Linked DNA regions of Homo sapiens: region 1 is linked to region 2. Evidence: promoter capture Hi-C in human tissues and cell types (Jung and others, 2019). All regions are on one chromosome and are shown on one strand. Each heading gives the region's core, a stretch centred on a gene start or on the middle of the fragment in contact. The rest is flanking DNA. Distances are from core to core; before and after follow the strand shown. Region 1 overlaps AGO4 (argonaute RISC component 4). Region 2 holds the start of SH3D21 (SH3 domain containing 21).

The links. Contacts are between HindIII fragments. The study calls those that stand out against the background at their distance.
Region 1: a contact is called between a fragment that was not itself captured here and the fragment with the promoter of SH3D21 in region 2, in 1 of the 25 tissues and cell types used here (psoas muscle).

Annotation. Positions count from the first base shown.
Region 1 is chr1:35,849,555-35,852,876 of GRCh38, reverse strand. It overlaps AGO4 (argonaute RISC component 4), which reads right to left. Exons shown (of 18, transcript NM_017629.4): 16 at 2,619-2,720; 17 at 1,824-2,023. Among named protein-coding and RNA genes, the nearest start is that of AGO1, 32 kb to the left of the region's middle. RefSeq lists a silencer at 3,308-3,322. The HindIII fragment of the contact is 6,144 bases long and covers 1-3,322 here.
Region 2 is chr1:36,304,632-36,308,130 of GRCh38, reverse strand. It overlaps SH3D21 (SH3 domain containing 21), which reads right to left and starts at 1,763. Exons shown (of 16, transcript NM_001162530.2): 1 at 1,707-1,763; 2 at 1,376-1,533; 3 at 1,226-1,289; 4 at 846-964; 5 at 524-614; 6 at 306-361; 7 at 168-213; 8 at 1-22. The coding sequence starts at 1,710. THRAP3 (thyroid hormone receptor associated protein 3) reads right to left here. Exons shown (of 12, transcript NM_005119.4): 12 at 2,774-3,499. RefSeq lists enhancers at 863-912, 715-1,515 and silencers at 1,013-1,452, 1,673-1,722. The HindIII fragment of the contact is 33,466 bases long and covers 1-3,406 here.

The DNA.
Region 1 (3,322 bases), core at 124-2,623, 450 kb after region 2:
CTGCCCACTATGTCTGGCTAATTTCTTTAGGCTTCAGTCAAATGTCATTTTTCTGCACAGAAATCTTCTTTGACTTTAAGGTCCAGGTCAGAGCCACCTGGAACATGCTTTAACAGAATCCTATATTTTTCTTTCATGGTACTAAACACAATTGAAATTAAATTATTACTTGGGTAATTATTTATTTTCCCACTGGGATATAAACTCCAAGAAAGCAGCAATTTTGTCCACCTTGCTCACCACTGTATCCTTGGTGTCTAGCACATAATACAACAAAGTCTCAATAAACCATTAGTTGAATGAATGCATCTACGTACCTAGCATAGTGATGGAACATAGGAAATTCCCAGCAAATGCTATTGTGCCACCAGTCTCTTCTTGTCTTCCCTTCACTAACTATATAACCTTGGACACATAATAACTCCTCTGAACTTTGGTCTTTCGGAGTAACAACAACAACTTCTAAACATACTACTTAAGGATACCATGTGATATAAAGGGCTTGACAAGCTGTAAATCCCCATCCCTCTTCTGACTTTCTCTTTAAGTGATTATTATCCTTATCATCTAGGCTCAAAATCTTAGCCATCTTTTACTTCACCCTCTCCTCTGACATGCATATCCAATTAACTGTTAAGTCCTGTCTATTCTATCCTAGGAACAGCATTTTACATTTAACAAACACGGTCTTGCTTTAACATATTTTTCCAGCCTCATACCTGCTTGTTCCCCTTTAATATCCTCCAGCCAAAGAAAATTTGCTACTGTACAAACATGCCACTTGCTTTTTCCCCTTTGTGTCCCTTGTTCTCTCTGCCCTGAAAATTCTTTTCTCTTTTTTGTAGAGCCATTCTATCCATCCAGCTATGAAATCTTCTCTAAAAGCCTCTCCTCTGGTGTCCCATTGCACTTTTATCTGTACTGACTTGGGCTACTTGTCAGTTGTATATTTGCCTGTATTGTCTCCCATACTGAAACATAAAATCCCCGTGGACAAGAAACATGTCTTACTCATCTTAGTAATTCTAGCACCTAGCACAGTACTAGGCACACAGTCAATACCTAATAAATATGCCGAATAAATGAAAGCACATTACGGAATGGAAGGTACAAAGCCACAGTTGGACATTTTCCATAATAGTGTATTTTCAACCCTTACAGAAATAGACTTGCAGTGGAATGTCTACTATTTAGCAGCTGAATTCAGACTTGGGGAAGAGCCCAGAAACTGCTACACTTCACAGATGGTCATTTGGAAAAGAAAATTAATGCAGAGAGCTTGTGTAACTATTTAATAGTAGCTCAGGAATAGGTCAAAATAACAGATTCTCTGATTCTCCTGAGATGCCTATTTGAGAGTGAGAATCATCTGTGCCCCCACTCCCACACACACATCCAGGTTCACTCTGGGGTATTTTTCCAGAATGTACCAAAAGCAAAGTGAACTGGTCAGGCCTCCTCACTTGCATGAAGTGGAATCCACAGCCCTGTGACTACTTTGACCGGAGCCAGGGTACTGTGTTGACCACTTTTTGAGGCTACTTAGGACCTGAGCAGAACTGAAATGCATTTGGCTCCATGGGAGAACCACAAGCAGCTCCAAATTAAACTCCTTTAGAGACACAACACAAGTATAAACAAGCCTGAGCACTTCTTGGACCAAAAGTCACATTACAAGCTCTCAGAGGCACATGCAATTTTATTTGCTTCTTACAATTTAAACTCTGAAAGTTTAAATCCTTAAAAAAGTTTTCTATTGTAGCTCATTTTTTTTAACATGCTACTAAAATATAAAGAGACTTTATTGTGCCTAAGAAACTTGCCTGTCATGATCTTTATCCACCAGATGATACCTTGCCCTAAATGCTACAAGCCGGGCATAATATGCAGGGGCTGGAATAGAGACTGAGCGAGTGCACCTCACATAGGTGTGACACAGCTGGTAAGTCAGTAGCTGGAGTTCATCTGCAGTGAAGCAGTTGTCATCCCACAAGACCTGGTAATGTGAGGGACGGCTGGTTCCCTGAGGAGAGAGTTTTATGATTAATGTTTTTTTTTTGTTCGTTTTTTGTTTTTGTTTTTTTTTTTTTTTTTTTGAGATGGAGTCTCACTCTGTCACCTAGGCTGGAGTGCAGTGGTACGATCTTGGTTCACAGAAACCCCCGCCTCTGGACTTCAAACAATTCTCCTGCCTCGGCCTCCCAAGTAGCTGGGACTATAGGTGCACGCCACCATGCCCAGATAATTTTTGTTTTTTTTAGTAGAGATGGGGTTTCACCACATTGGTCAGGCTGGTCTCAAACTCCTGACCTCAGGTGATCTGCCCATTTCGGCCTCCCAAAGTGATTGGATTACAAGCGTGAGCCACCATGCCTGGCCTGATTAATATATTTCTGACATGACACGAGAAGAGAAAATAATTGAAACCTACTCCTTAAACTCAGAAATACTTCTGCCTAGCACACCTACAAGCAGATACCTAGACCAAAAGATAATTCTAGGATACAAGCATTAACAAAGTTAGGCACGGTGTTAAATAACAAGTCGACTCAAGCTAGTTGCTGAATTTGCAAACATCTCCCTATCAAGTCAAAGATCTGAACCAGCTTCCAAATTACCTGAATTCCTGCATGACTACAGAGGTAAAAGTCAAACTCAGATGGATGTGTGATGGTACTATCCACTGTAGTGCCTGCTGGTACATTGCCACTTTTCCCTACCTACAAAAAACAAAAAAAAGTAATTAGTCATCAAAGTGCCAAACTGTGGTCAGGCCATTTTTTTCTTTTGTGTGTTAATTGGGAGCAAGTTGGTAAATGTCTCTTAAGTCTTGAAAATCACTTTCATTCAAGATGTTGAATCCTCTGTAACTTTCCCTTAGCCCAACCATTTTAACCTATAGTATTTTCACAAACAAATATGTTCCAGGATCTCTTCAGGAGGATACGGACAAAAATATTTTACCCGTGGCTTTGGGCTACAACATTATTATGTATTTACAGATGACACAGTGGTATGTTCACAAAGGGAAAAAACATTTAACATTTAAGATAGATAAACTTTCTGAGAAAAAAAGTTTTATTCCTTACTTGGAGTAAAAAAAATTCACAATTTTCAGTAAAAGATTAAGGAATCTTTAAACTGGTTTACCAGGTTCAACATAACTAGTACTTTTTTTTTTTTTTTTTTTGAGACAGCGTCTCACTCTGTCACCCAGGCTGGAGTGCACTGGGAGGATCACAGCTCACTGCAACCTTGGACTCCTGGACTCAAGGAATCCTTTCACCTCAGCCTCCTGAGTAGCGGGGGCTATAGGCACACA
Region 2 (3,499 bases), core at 514-3,013:
CTGTAGACCTCAGGGTGGGAGACTGGGAAGAGGTCAGTCCACTGTCCTCTGAAGCCAAGCCTCCCCCATCCATCAGCAGCCCCCACCTCCATCAGCCTAGCTGGCCCACCAAGTCACAACCTTGGGAGTGGCTGAGGGAGTGGGGGACCCTTTGGATGGGTGCTCACCTGTCTGCAGGTAGTCTGGAGGGCTGTCATAGGCCAGGCTGCTCAGCTAGTGGGGGAAGGGGCAGGGAGGAACTAGATGAGCCTCCAACCACCCCAAGAGGAACTCACCACCTCTGTGCCTACTCTGAGCCAACTTACCTTGGGAGGCCGCTGGGGACCAGGGCTGACTGAAGGCATGTCTGGGTTACCAAGGCCTAGTGGGGGACAGTGAGGTTAGGGAGGGTGCTAATTCACAGGTTAGGTCATGGGAGAGGGTCAGAGGGGTCACAGGGTCAGGATATGTGAATCACAGGCTCATGCCACTGGGAGGGTCATTGGAGATTGCGAGTCACAGGGTCACAGAGTCGAGGTCTCACTTGGGGGCCCACTGTCCAGCAATTCCACAAAGTTGGATGGGAAGGCTCCCAGCTGCCCGTTCTTCTTCCCCAGCCACCAGCCGTCCTCAATCTGGGGAGAGGGGAGGACGCAGAGGCGTCTGGTTCTGCCCCAAGAGTCCCTAGGATAATCTGCCACCCTTGGTTCTGCCCAAGCGCCCCTTCCTCCCTCCTTCCCTCCCGCGCTTCCCCGTATCTGCACCGTCGCCATTCCCACCGTCCACACCCTCACTTCCCACCCCGCTCACTAGGGAGGCGCGTTCCATCATCCTCCCCCAAACGGTCCCATCACCTCACCCCTCACCTCCTTTATCATTTCCACGATCTCCCCAGCTTGCAGCTTCAGCTCGTCCGCCTGCTCTGGGCTGTAGCTGAAGTTCACTTTGCACCATCTTTGGGGCCTCGGGTGTTTGGCAGGATGACCTAGCACCGGACAAGCGCGGCTGAGCTCCAGTCGGACGCCCCAGTCAGAGGAGCTGGGGGAAGCGCAAGGCGCGCACGTAGCCTTTGGTCCCTCCAGCCCCGCCCCAGGGCGGAGCATTGCACTCGAGAACCAATCACAGACCGCAGGGCGGCCCCGAGGTCCCGCCCAGAGCCGCGCCCGTCACTAAGAGCCGGAGACGCCGGGGTCGCACTGGCTCCGTGCACCCGCCCACCGGCGCCCGTCCCCGCCCTTGCGCTCACCTCGGCGGCGCGCACAGCGCGGCCTCCGCGCCTCTCCGGAGCCCCGCAGGGTCTCTGGGATCTCCTGGGAATCAGGGCACGGGGAAGGCGCTCTCAGCTCCCGGGGGGCGCGCGCTGAGACCCCACAGCCCGCCCCTGGCTCGGCCTCACCTGCACCAGGCGCTCGGGGAAGAGGCCATAGCGGCCCCCAAACTCTCCGCGAAGCCAGCCCCGCGCGGGCACCCAGCGCACCTGCCGGACCACGTCCCCGGGCGCCAGACTCAGCTCGTCCTCCTTCTGCGCGCGGTATCCGGCCAGGACGAGGACTTCTGCGGGCGGAAGACGGGGCCGGCGTGCGGCTCAGAAAGGCCCAGCCGGGCAGCCTGGCTAGGGCGGGCGTGTCCCCAAGCACCGTAGAGGGCAGCGGGGGTCGGGGGGTGGTGTGGGCTCTTGCTATGTCCACGGTTGCAGAGAGAGGCCACCTCAAAGCCTCCGCACTTACCCATGGTTTCCGGGGCGCCCTCCAGAGCCTGGCAGCTCCCTCTGACGGCCGAGTACTGGGCCCGCGCAGGGTGCGACCTGAGGCAAGACAGTAGGGTAAAGGAGGCGTAGCCGCCAGCCGATAGGTCGGGCCAGGTGCTGGGAGTGGGTGTGGAGAGGGGGCGGCCCGGCTCAGCAGGTCCGGCCCCCAACCCCGGGGTGAGGAGGACTCCAGGGTCTCTGGCCTGTGCAGCGGTCACAGCTCCGTCACAGGTTCTTCCGCCCACCTAAATTTTAGGCCAGCCGCCTCTCCCTTTCCCTCAGCTTTTGCCCGGAGGCTCCCAGCTACAATTTGCACAGAGCCTTTCCAGGCCCACCCTTCCCCAGCTCACAAGCTTTTGGCTTGAGGGGAAAAGGTGGGGAGAGGCACATACCAGGGTGGGGCCCCCCAGCAAGTAGCAACCGCTCTAAACCGGCCTTGAGTGAATGAAGTGGCTGCCCTTGTACCAGCAATAGCTTTGAGTGGACACTTCCAGTCTGCTTTCCTTCAAGGCGTACTCCTCTCTGGCCCCGTACCCACTCTCTACCCCCATATAGGAAGGACACAGCAAAGACCCCTGCTTTGGGGCCAGAGGTCTAGTTTGGTTTCAGAAAACACCTCCAGGTTTTCCCTGGGAGTTAGGCCGGGAGAATGAATTTTACCAGCTTCCAAGATTTCTGCTCACAGTTGAGTCCCCAGCCGGCAGGAGTCTGAAGGTTAGGGCCCACCCTATGGCCAGTCCATGTGGGATAGGCTCTTTCAGGTAGAAGGCTGAGCCTACTAACCACATCCCTTGATCCCTGCCCCACCACCATGATGAAGGAAGCCAAAGTCCTTGCCTATGACACCAGTGGAAAAAATCTGTTTCTCCTGGGGTGTCCAAGGTACACAATGCTCCTCCCAGGAAGGACTGTGTCTGTCTGGGACTCCAGCAGCCTGCGCAAGGCCCCACAGGCCCTTTGTCTTTCAGGTTTTCTGAAACTGCCGTGGGAAGTTATCTACCACCCTCAACACACACACACACTCAGGATGACAATGAACAGAACCCGTTTACATCTGCCACTTCATTTATTTTATTTGCAGGAGGAGTTGAAACAAATTTTAAGGGAGATTTTCATTTTCCCCCTAAACATGAATCATTCAAGTAAAACCAACTTAACTATAGAAATGTAGCAAAGTAAGGGGAAAGCAGCACAACAACGCAAGAGGCAAAGGCTGGGGGGGAGAGGTGGGTGCAGTCCGCATATAACATATGCATAAATGCCTTATGATTCACCTGCTCAGGACCGCCTCCCCAGAAGGCAAGCACAAGGACCCATTTTAAGAGGATGTTTCCCCCCAAACATCTGAGAATGCTTCAACTTAAACAGCTTAAGGTTAAAAAGACAAAGAAAAAAAAAAAGAAACCCAAAAAAACCCCTGAACCACCCAGCCATAACCACCTTCCTTAATCGATCATAGGAGTTTCTTTTCATTTTATAAAAAGATTAATAAAAAATATTGAAAAAATTTTCTCATATTTGTAAAGATAATAGAATTCATAAGTTTCTTAGAAAACAGACCAGACACTGCCCTCCAGTTTCCACCCCGTTGCTGGGAGGATCAGCAGGACTAGAAAGTTTGGGATACTGGAGCTGCTGGTGGAGAACGGGGAAGTCCAGCCCAGAAGAAATCAGGAAATAGGGCTCAGGGGCACGTGAGGTGTGGTAAGGAGCAACTCCACGTGATACATGGCTGCGCAGAAAAGGGGAACACAAGGTGGTCGGAAAGGCCTT